4 separate regions of the Homo sapiens genome follow, and regions 1, 2 and 3 are each linked to region 4. Evidence: promoter capture Hi-C in 16 types of primary human blood cells and fetal thymus (Javierre and others, 2016). All regions are on one chromosome and are shown on one strand. Each heading gives the region's core, a stretch centred on a gene start or on the middle of the fragment in contact. The rest is flanking DNA. Distances are from core to core; before and after follow the strand shown. Region 1 holds the start of LINC01530 (long intergenic non-protein coding RNA 1530). Region 2 overlaps ZNF175 (zinc finger protein 175). Region 3 overlaps ETFB (electron transfer flavoprotein subunit beta). Region 4 holds the start of LENG1 (leukocyte receptor cluster member 1).

Region 1 (2,700 bases), core at 4-2,503, 2.6 Mb after region 4:
AGAATGCTCCAAATTGAGTTAATAGCAAATGCAAAGGACATGAAGGGCAGGGCCTGGCTGTGTTCAGCCCATTGGAAAGTGTGTTGTGACTGAGGACGACCAGAAAGGACCAGAAGCTTAGAGGTTGGCAGGATAAGGAGCTTGGATTTTATTCTGAGATGGGAACCACTGGATGATTTTAAGCTGGGGGGCAGGGTAGTGACTGGTGACAGGATCTGATTTATATTTCCACAGGCTTCCTGGCACTGTGCCTGAATAGAGGGTGGAGTGTGGCAAGGGAAGAAACAGAACAGTGAGGAGGCCCCTGCAGTGATGCAGGTGAGGAGTAACGGTAGCTCGGAGCAGAATGGAGACAGTGGAAGTGGAGAGAAGTGGTTAGATTCTGGGCCTCTTCTGGAGATAGAGACGATGAGACTCACACAAGATTTGGTTGCGGGAGGGAAGCGGATGAGAGAAACAGAACACTGGCGACCATTCCAAGATTTTGGCTTGAGCACTTGGATGGACAGTTAGTGGGGAGGAGGCAGAAAGATTGTGAGAGGAGCAGGTTTAGGACAGGGAATCTGGGATTTCGTTTGGATGTGGTAGATTTGAGGTCCTTTGCTCTGTAAGGTCTTTCCTGAACCCTGGGCTGGGTCTAGCACCTCCTCTGTGTTCCCACAGCCTCCTGAGCACCCCCTGGGCCAGCCCTGACCACTCTGTGTTGTAACCAGGACAGAGGAGGGTGCACTCGCACTGCACCCAGGTTGAAGGGCGAGAGTGAGAAGGTGTCAGGCTGGGCCGCAGAATCCAAAGCGGGTCAGCAGGTACAACAGCTGCTTAGAGCACTCCCACCCGGAGAGAGGGATTGAGAGATCACGGAAAAGGGTGCCATCTTTCCAGGGACGCCTACCAGAACGCGGGGGAGAGAAATACAGAGACCCTCAACTCCGCCACGTCATCGCGACAAAGGGCCAGGACCGGCCGGCCGCGGGATGGGCGCTCACCTGGGCAGAACTGGAGCTGGAAGGGCCAACCTCCAAAGAAACGAGGAGCGGGCGGAAGGACTACGACTCCCGGAAGGCTTTGGGCCCATCCGCCTACGACTCCCAGGTGCCCCTGCGTTGCGTCGTCCCGAAACACTTGCGGCTCTCGGACAAACTGGGCCTACAGTTCCCAGAGATCCTCGCGGCAGCGCTGCGCATTCTGCGCACGCCTCCCAGAGTGTACTAGGCCGGTCCGGCCCGCTTCCCGTCTGCGCCTGCGCAAGCACAATAGCCGTGCCAGAATTCTCTGCCAGCTGCTGTGCACTGCTGTCAGTGCAAAGATGGGATGGACTTTTTTTTCAGATTTTCTGCTGTTGTGGGAGTATGGCAAGAGTTTGAGGGGGCGGAGAAAGAGATTGGGAATGTGAAAAGGGAAGATAGCACCTGCGCTAAGCACATTCCTAGGATTGGGCCGCGTCTCGGGGATGCAGAGTGGGCTCTTCGGCGCGCCCTGCAGCCATGGGAGTGGACGCCTGCCCAGGCCGAAGGGCAAGGACTTGCGGGGTGGGGTCTCTGTGCATGCGCGGAGCTGAAAGGGAGCGTTTTGCAGATCTCCACGCGTGCGCAACTCTCGGGACGTGGACGCGGTGAACAGTTACGCACAATCGTCTTTCTGACACAAACACACCCTGCCAGGTGGAAGCCAGGATGGAGGGCAGGTGAGACCCGTAAGGCAAGATCCCAAAACCAAGGAACGGAGCACTCTCCCCGCTTGCTCCCCAGATCCAAGCCCTCCACTTCCTTCCAATGCCCCCCTTCCCGAAACTGCTCCCTCCTGTATATTCTGAGATCTTATCACTATTCCCGTGAGGCCCTTGATAAGGAGGATTGAGAGTGAAGGGTGATGGGAGACACGCCTTGGGCGTCTTCTGTCCACCTCAAGGATTGAACTTTGGTAACTGGAACTCATTCATTTGTTAATCTGTGTGCTAGGCCCTTTGACCCGCTGGCCAGATGCACCGGGACACAGGTGTATTCAGCCTGGTCCAGAGATAAGGATGATAAATCTTAATGTAAAGGTATCAGATGTTAAGGGCTGCAGGAGCCCAGAGGTTACAAGTGCTGCAAGCCAGAACATGGGGAAACAACAGCAATTAAGCCGTTAGCTTGTGCCTTGGAGGGGTGTTTGCCCTGCACCCCACTCACTACCTGAAGATAAATGGCTTCTCCAACGTGTAGTGGGGTTGGGATGATGAGGATGACATCACTGCCAGGTGGGAGGCAGGAGCTGCAGGTCCTGACATGATGAGGCAGGTATGGGCCGCCCTGGGCTGAGGGGGACATGGGCTACCCTGGACTGGAGGGCTGGGCTGTGGCATGGGGACCCTGTCAGAGACAGGTGTTTGGCCTCCATGCCTTCCTGTGTCTCTGGAAGGGTGAAACTAAGCGGGATGCTCCTCTCCCAGCCCCACCTGCTTTTCAGAGGCTACCATATGCTGGAGGGGGAAGATCCTGGCCACAAGCAGAGGCCCTGGAGGTGAATCAGTGTTGGAAGTGGGGTGGTTGGTTCTGGGTCCTCCCTGAGGCTCACATGGCTGCCCCTCCCCATCCTCCAGGCCTCGCCTTCTGTCCCGGATCCGCCAATCCTCCGATCCCTGGATCCTCTGATGATGGCATCAACTGTCTGGGCTACAGGTTGCTCTCCAAAGAGTGGCTGCCCCTCTACACCAACCTC
Region 2 (2,700 bases), core at 111-2,610, 2.6 Mb after region 4:
CGGAGGCTAAACCAAACCAAAATATAAATCAAAAGGTAAGAAAAAGTAACTCACTAAAGACAAGTAATTGACCAATAAAATTATGAAAAAAAAGCCTGTTTGTAAACAAAGTAATGCAAATTAAAACACTATACTATCTTTATTTCCATCACATTAGAAAAGATAAAAATAACAAAATAAAAATAGTACTGTCCAGAGCAGAGGGAAATACACACCACAAAGAGAAGATAATGTGCATGGTACTGGGATATACTCTGACATGAATTCAGACACTGATGGAAAATCTGAATTAGCGACAGCAGTATTGATTCAAATGATAAACTGGAAATCAGGTCAAGCAGAAAAAAAATTTCATTGTTAAAAAAGGAAAAAAGCTTATATTGAACATGTGTCCTAAAACGCTAAACTTGAAGATGTTCTGAACACGCAAGTTGACCAACATCAATGCAAATGAGAGAAACGTTTGTGCATCTGCACTGCTGTCACAAAGACTTAGACAATTTCATGTTTTAAACTTGTTTTGTTTTGAGACAGGGTCTCACTCTATTGCCCAGGCTGGAGTGTAGTGTCATGATTGCAGCTCACTGCAACCTTGACCGCCTCAAGCTCAGGTGATCCTCCCACGTCAACGTACTCAGTAGCTGGGACTACAGGTGCATGCCACCACACCTGGCTAATTTTTGTATTTTTGTAGAGTCTCGCCATGTTGCCCAGGCTGGTCTCCAACTCCTGGGCTCAAGTGATCCGCCCGCCTCGGCCTCCCAAAGTGCATGAGCCACTGTGCCCCACCTAAACTTGTATGTTTCAATTTTTCTTTTAAGAACGACTTTTAAATATTTGGGGTATTTACAATTTTGAAAATGATTTATATGTGCAATTTATTTTGTGTTAATGTTCCCTTCTTTTAATACTTTCTATTATCAAATGTTTCTAGCAGGTTGAGATGATTTTAACAGGTTACTGAAATATATAATCTCACAATATATTGGTTCAGGATAATAACACACATATTTATTATACTTTTTTTAAAAAACAGAACATCTCTGTAAATTTGGTTATAAACCCATCACAGAACAATGGTACACTGTTTACTATTATAGTCACATACTATTTAAAGACTTGTAAATAAAGCATCAAGAGATACACAGAATAATTTAGGATTTCAGGAAATCTTGACTATACCAAGAATTCTGATTTCTTGTTACCAAATCCTGACTATTTCTATCTGTGGGCAATCTGGAAACACTGTTTTCCAGCATTTTTTGTTCACCTTTTTAAACAGGAAAAAGTGTTTAAAAGCCTCTTCACATGGTCCTTAAAAGCCTCTTCTCACTCTACCTCCCTGTGACTATTTAAATTACAAAGGAAGGAGATTTTGCCGCACCTTATGAGAACAGAGGAAAAACGGGCCAAACCCCATGGACCAAGCAAGGAATTTGGTGGGGGGGACCACTTGAAATTTTTCAAAGACCCAGTGGTGGATGAAGGAGCAGAACCAGTGCTTAGCAGGAAAGAGTCAGCTTTTCCATCCTATGACTGGGGCTTCTGATCAGACCAGGGACTACAGTTTCTTCTTTCTTGACCCAAGGCCAACCCTCTACTATCCTCTTTTATCAGCCAGTTCATGGTTTCCTCTAGAACACAGATAGCCTATGAATGTGGAAACATCAGCCTCTGTGGTCCTCGCTTGACAGGAGGCTCAAGACTGACTCAGGAGCAGGGAGCCCAGACCTGCTGCATCCTGTGTCTGCCCTCACGTTCTGGAGAACTATCCCCAGGGCTGCCCCTGTTTACCTCGCAAGATCCATCCTGCTTCTCTGGACCCAGGACCTGAGGCTTCTGGGATAAATTCACATCAGCAGGCATCTCCACTCTGGGCTTCTACTCTCGGTCTCTCTTGCTGACAACTCCACTTTTCCCAGGAGCCAGAAGCTGGATAGGTGTTTGGATTTTCCAACCAGGGACACGGCGGAGAGTCGTACTGGGCTATGAAGAGAGATCCTGCAGCCTCAATGATGTGGCCTGACCTGGGGGTTCTGCAGAAGCCTTGGAAAAGCAATGAGTACATGGTCACTCATTCAACATTCACTCCACAAATATTTCCTGAGGGCACTGAGGTGAAGTCACTGTGTCAGACATTGGAGTAGACAAAGTTCAGAAAGCCCAACTCTAGTTATTAGTCAGGGTTAAAAATAAAGACTGAGTCTGGACTAAATGGTGAATTCATTGCAGCTTTGCCACATTTTCACTGTGAGAATATGAAAATATTACTTTAGTTGTAGTTTCCAAAATGAAAATGCAGGTATTTATCACAGATGTTGGGAAACTTAACCAAGATGAAGCTTGTCAAGTCCTCAGTGCCTGCCTGGCACGTGATAAATATGAATTAAAAAAAGAAAGTTGTCAATTTAATTGTCAGCTAAATATCATGGGCATTATCATACCCATTTTGAGGATGAGGATAATGAGGCTGTGTGCTGTTACATAATTTGCCTGAAGGTTACTCAGTCTGTAAATGGAAAAACAGGGAATCAGCCCCACATCTGCCTTGTTCTAAACTGTACACTGTCTCCACTATCTCATGTACCCATACGTGGCCAGCTTCCAGAAACACCATTTCCTCTTTCTGTTGCCTTCATAGAACTCAGGCCGGGAGGTGGCTCTGTCTGGTGTACCTATTCTGAGCTTCTGGACTTTTCA
Region 3 (2,700 bases), core at 71-2,570, 2.8 Mb after region 4:
CAGTGAGCCAAGATCATACTACTGCACCCCAGCCTGGGCAACAGAACAAGACTCTGTATCAAAAAGAAAGAGAAAGAGAGAGAGAGAGAGAGAGAGAAAGAGAGAAAGAAAAGAGAAGAGAAGAAAATCCCTCTTGCCTGCAGTGGACAACAAATAGGAAGACTGGCTCTCCTAACACCGTGGGCACACGTAGCCTCTTTCAGAGTCTCACAGTTCCCAAGACAGATTTGGGGTTAGACCCGTGGTCCTGCCACTTCCATGCTCAGTGGCCCTGGCCAAGGTACTTGGCCTCTCTGTGCCTCAGTTGCCTCATCTGTAAAATGAGAGGTAATGGCAGTAACCAACCTCACAGGCTACTAGGATGGTCAAACGAGTTAATGCATATAAAACCCTTGACTCGTTGTCTGCATGGGTCAGTGCTGCTTTTAAAAAAATTTTTTTTTTCTTTTCTTTTTTTTTTTTTGAGATAGAATCTGGTCTGTCACCCAGGCTGGAGTGCATTGATGTGATCCCTGCTCACTGCAACCTCCACCTCCCGGGTTCAAGTGATTCTCCTCCCTCAGCCTCCCAACTAGCTGGAATTACAGGCATGTGCTAAAACGCTCGACTAATTTTTGTATTTTTAGTAGAGATGGGGTTTTACCATGTTGGCCAGGCTGGTCTCGAACTCCTGACCACAAGTGATCCACCCACCTCAGCCCCACAAAGTGCTGGGATTACAGGTGTGAGCCGCCACGCCCAGCTTTGAGGCTGTTTTTGATATTGGTGGATATGTCGTCTCTTTAAGAGAAAGCCAGCACTTAATGCTGAATGATTTACCTCAATTATAAAACTTTTTTTTTTTCTTTTTGAGACAAGGTCTAGCTCTGTCACCCAGGCTAGAGTGGTACAGTCACAGCTCGCTGCAGCCTCGACCCTCCTGGGTTCAAGCCGTCCTCCCACCTCAGCCTCCTCAGTAGCTGGGACTACAGGTGCACGCCACCATGACCTGCTAATTTTGTTTTTTGGTAGAGATGAAGTCTCTCTATGTTGCCCAGGCTGGTCTTGAAATCCTGGGCTCCAGTGATCCTCCTTCCTCAGTCTCCTAAGGTGCTGGGATTACAGGCATGAGCCATCATTATTTAAAAAACAAACAAGCTATCATTTTTCAGCCCTACCATTGTTTCCTGACTTATGTAATATAACTAAACTGTTTTTGAAGCTTAAAATCAACTCAAGCTTAATTGAGAAGATGAGCTAGTTTGTTTCCTCAGGTGTGTGTGCGTGCGTGTGTGTGTGTGTGTCTGGAAAGTTCTTACCCTTTCTCCTCAGGAGTCAGGAGCCTGGGAATCAGGAGCTTAGGGCTGGGAGTTCTGCCAGAGCAAGAGCAAGATGTGGCTTGAGGCCCTTCAGAAGCCTCCCTGACTCACAGCAAGAAGCTTGGGGCCTCTTACTGATGGGTGGATGAGGTTCTTTTCTGTCTTAAAGGGGCAACTCCTATGTTGTGTTTTTTTTTTTAAGAAAAAAGGCCAGGCACTGCGACTCACACCTGTAATCCCATCACTTTGGTAGGCTGAAGCAGGCGGATCACTTTAGGCCAGGAGTTCCAGACCAGCCTGGGAAACACGGGGAAATCCTTTCTCTACAAAAAGTAAAAAAAAAAAAATTAGCCCGGCATGATGGTGCCCGCCTGTGGTCCCAGCTACTGGGGAGGCTGAAGTGGGAGGATCACCTGAGCCCGGGAGGTGGAGGTTGCAGTAAGGCAAGGTGGCACCTCTGCACTCCAGCCTGGGCAACGAGAGAGATGAAAATAACAGTTCTTTCTCTTTCCTCTCCTCTTCCAGCTCCTTCTCCTCTTTCTCCTTTTTCTTTTTCTTTTTCTTTTTTGAGATGAGGTCTTGCTCTGTCACCCAGGTTACATGTAGTGGCATGATCACGGCTCACTGCACCCTTGACCTCCTGGGCTCAGGTGATCCTCCCGCCTCAGCCTCCTGAGTAGCTGGGACTACAGGTGTGTGCCACCATACCTGGCTGTTTTTTTTTTTTTTTTTTTGTTGTTGTTTGTTTGTTTGTTTTGAGGCGGAGTCTTGCTCTGTCGCCCAGGCTGGAGTGCCGTGGCGCAATCTTGGCTCATTACAACCTCCACCTCCTGGGTTCAAGCAATTCTCCCTGCCCCAGCCTCTGAGTAGCTGCAATTACAGGCGTGCACTACCATGCCCGGCTAATTTTTTATTTTATTTTTATTTTTAGTAGAGATGGGGTTTTGCCATGTTGGCCAGGCTGGTCTTGAACTCTTGACCTCAGGTGATCCGCCCACCTTGGCCTCCCAAAGTGCTGGGATTACAGGCATGAGCCACCACGCCCAGCTGTTTTTGTTTTTGTTGTTGTTGTTTGTAGAACCTGTTGCCCAGGCTAGTATCCAACTCCTGGGCACAAGTGATCCTCCCACCTTGGCCTCCCAAATTTCTGGGATTACAGACAGGAGCCACTGCGCCCGGTCTCAGTCCTCCATCTTTTAATGTTACCCTCTCCATGAGGCACAGCCAGAGTGGGAAGCCCCTTATGGGTCCCACCTTCTCATCTCGGATTCTGTCCTGCCTGTGGGAGGAACAGTTACACCCACAGCCCCAGAGAAAAAGGGGCAGGGAAATAGCAAGAGCATCCCAGTGTCCTCACCAGGCTCAGCTGCCACCCGAGATCTGCTCTGGCCAAGCCCTGGGT
Region 4 (2,700 bases), core at 155-2,654:
TGCGAGAGGCTCCCGCCTCTCTCCCTCCCTCTCTCCCCATTCAGTGTTCAGACTCCTGGCACTATGTGAGCCCAGCCTGTCTTGACTTCAGGATCCCGCCTTCTAAGCTGTGTGGTCCATTCCGGGGGCAGTCGTCCATCTGGGCCCAGATCCCTGAGTCTATTTCCAGCCTCCCTGAGACCACCCAGAATTTCCTCTTCTTCCTGGGGACCCAGGCTTTTGCTGTGCCCCTTCTGCTGATCTCCAGGTGAGACGGCCCAGACTTCTGGGTCTGGGTTTGAATGCGTGTGATCTGGGGGCCACCACCTGCGTCCAAGAGAGGAGAGGCTTGGGCGTGGGAGCAGGCAACGTACTGAGTCTGAGGGAGGAGGCCTAGGCTCCTGGACTGCTGGGTCCGAAGGAGGAGGTGGGCGGGACGTAGGACTCCTGGATCTGAAGGCGGAGGGGCTGGGAGACTGAACTCCTTGAGCCCAGACGAGGAGGGGCTTAGGCGTCCACATCCCTGGCTTCGAAGGAGCCAGACGTTTGGATATAATGGAAGAGCGTGTCAGGAGTGGCTTCCGTTCCTGTCTCCTTCAGCATCCTGATGGCGTACACTGTGGCTCTGGCTAACTCCTACGGACGCCTCATCTCTGAGCTCAAACGTCAGAGAGAGACGGTGAGCCAGGCGGGTCCCTGAGAGGGCCCCTGGGGAACATGGAAAGGGGTTGGGGAAGAGGATTGTCTCACCTCCACCTCTCTTTGCCCCAGGAGGCGCAGAATAAAGTCTTCCTGGCACGGCGCGCTGTGGCGCTGACCTCCACCAAACCGGCTCTTTGACCCCCGCAGCCCACGTCCCGCTTTCAGACCCCAGGCCCATTGTAAGCCTAGGTCACAACATCTGTAAACTAGGAGAACTGGAGAAGACTCCACGCCCTTCCAGCTTTGGTATCTGGAGATTTCCAGGGCCCCTCGCCGCCACGTCCCTGACTCTCGGGTGATCTTCCTTGTATCAATAAATACAGCCGAGGTTGCTGAGCGCGCTTTGAAATCTGCGTCCTGAAGGTGGGGGCAGGGCTACAGCGGGGCAGGAGCCAATCAAATGTACGGGCATGTTTGTCGGTGCAGAGCGCTCTTCCGCAAGGAGACTTGTCGGTCATGTCGGCCAATCGACGGCCGCATCTGGTAGCATCAGGGGCGGGCCAACTTATGATTGGTTCAGATCTGTGACAAGAGGCGGTTGCTAGGGGATACCACGAGCCGAACGCCTAGCATTCGCTGTGATAAAGGGCGTCTCAGCCAATCACCTGTCGCTACAGGCCAGGGGGCCGTACCAACTAATTCGGAACCAATCCGCGGTCGAAGTAGGGACAAGAAAAAGGGGGGCATCCTCTCGCCAATCGGAAGTGCAAAGAGGCGGGCGTGCCAGTCCCTGGACAGCTACGACGCCATGAATATCTTGCCCAAGAAGAGCTGGCACGTCCGGAACAAGGACAATGTCGCCCGCGTGCGGCGTGACGAGGCCCAGGCCCGGGAGGAGGAGAAGGAGCGTGAGCGGAGGGTGCTGCTGGCTCAGCAAGAGGTAAGCTCGGAAGCCGGCAGGGCGGCGCTCCGGGGCCCAGCGCGCAGGCGCCGCGGTTGGGGGCCGGAAGCGGAGGCGTTGCGCAGGCTCAATGTGCCCCGTGTGAAATTCGGGACCAGGCGCCGATCCCACTTTCGAGGACGTTGCCCCGCAAACCTTGTGCCCACTTCCACGAAACCTTCCTTGATCTCGCCCTCGTCTTAGTTTTTCCCCCACTGATGTATTTCACATGGCTGGAACAGTGTCTAGCACAAAAGAGAAGCTTAACATTTAATGAATCCGTGAACCCTTGGACAGTTCAAGGAAATTCGGATCACTTTTTAGTTTGCCTGCACAGCCTATTTATTGAGCATCTACTGTATGCTAACTACATGCCGTGCACCTGACTTGCGGAATCCCCAATAAGCACTGTTCGTTCTTAGAGGGGCACTGTCATCTCTGTTGCACGAAGTGAGATGGCTTCAGTGAGGGGAAGGCACATTTTAAGGAGAGGCGGACAGCCAGGCTCCACGCCATCGGGCGAGCCCTTTCGTGCACCGCCCCCTAGACACATACACACAAACACGGGCTTTCCGTATGGCTCTTTAAATCTGTTTGGTGTACACCCAACTTTCATTTCCTTAGCTAGTCTGATCCTCCGCCGTGGGTGGGAGGTAGTCTAGGTTTTTAGAATCTCAGTAGGCTGCTGAGCGCTGTTTGAAATCCGCGTCCTGAAGGCAGGGGACAGGGCTTCAGCAGACTTGGGGTAGTCACTTGGAGCCATGGCTAGAATTCAGATCGTCTGGCCTAATGCATACCTTTATGGCTGTTTTAATTGTCTCACTTGAGGTTAGGAACCCCTTTGGTTTAGGCCAGGGACCTCCTCCCATACATCCTTGATGACCCGTGGTTTACTATTTGAAAGGGAGTTTACAAAACCCAGGCGTTGCCTCATCTGCCTACCCTCACCCCCAGCTAGGACAGGTGCCTCTTTTAGGCGCCTAGTGCTCCCTTTCTCATAACCCCAGCACCCTGGACTGCCATTTTCTGTGGTGGGCACCAGACTCACAGTTCTTGAATTACCTCTAGGTTCTGAATGTCCTGCCTATAACTTTCTCCCCAGGCCCGTACAGAATTCCTACGGAAGAAAGCCAGACATC

The links. The method cuts DNA at HindIII sites, captures the fragments that hold promoters and counts their contacts. A CHiCAGO score of 5 or more calls a contact.
Region 1: a contact is called between the fragment with the promoter of LINC01530 here and the fragment with the promoter of LENG1 in region 4, in 2 of 17 cell types (total CD4 T cells and non-activated CD4 T cells). The highest score is 5.5, in total CD4 T cells.
Region 2: a fragment that was not itself captured here is called in contact with the fragment with the promoter of LENG1 in region 4 in 2 of 17 cell types (total CD4 T cells and activated CD4 T cells); the score reaches 8.5 in total CD4 T cells.
Region 3: a contact is called between a fragment that was not itself captured here and the fragment with the promoter of LENG1 in region 4, in 3 of 17 cell types (non-activated CD4 T cells, total CD4 T cells and activated CD4 T cells). The highest score is 9.5, in non-activated CD4 T cells.

The regions. Positions count from the first base shown.
Region 1 is chr19:51,592,933-51,595,632 of GRCh38, reverse strand. It overlaps LINC01530 (long intergenic non-protein coding RNA 1530), which reads left to right and starts at 1,253. Exons shown (of 2, transcript NR_034159.1): 1 at 1,253-1,684; 2 at 2,582-2,700. RefSeq lists a silencer at 336-503 and enhancers at 586-635, 846-1,155, 902-1,537, 1,538-2,173, 2,174-2,700. The HindIII fragment of the contact is 8,842 bases long and covers 119-2,700 here.
Region 2 is chr19:51,572,496-51,575,195 of GRCh38, reverse strand. It overlaps ZNF175 (zinc finger protein 175), which reads right to left. Exons shown (of 5, transcript NM_007147.4): 2 at 1,795-2,046. The coding sequence starts at 1,866. Among named protein-coding and RNA genes, the nearest start is that of ZNF175, 2.6 kb to the right of the region's middle. The HindIII fragment of the contact is 1,968 bases long and covers 377-2,344 here.
Region 3 is chr19:51,358,164-51,360,863 of GRCh38, reverse strand. The region is part of intron 1 of ETFB (electron transfer flavoprotein subunit beta); the gene reads left to right. Among named protein-coding and RNA genes, the nearest start is that of ETFB, 6.9 kb to the left of the region's middle. The HindIII fragment of the contact is 200 bases long and covers 1,221-1,420 here.
Region 4 is chr19:54,158,425-54,161,124 of GRCh38, reverse strand. LENG1 (leukocyte receptor cluster member 1) reads left to right here and starts at 1,404. Exons shown (of 4, transcript NM_024316.3): 1 at 1,404-1,561; 2 at 2,664-2,700. The coding sequence starts at 1,430. It overlaps TMC4 (transmembrane channel like 4), which reads left to right. Exons shown (of 15, transcript NM_144686.4): 13 at 92-247; 14 at 580-658; 15 at 751-1,017. The coding sequence ends at 819. RefSeq lists an enhancer at 1,402-2,071. The HindIII fragment of the contact is 1,716 bases long and covers 110-1,825 here.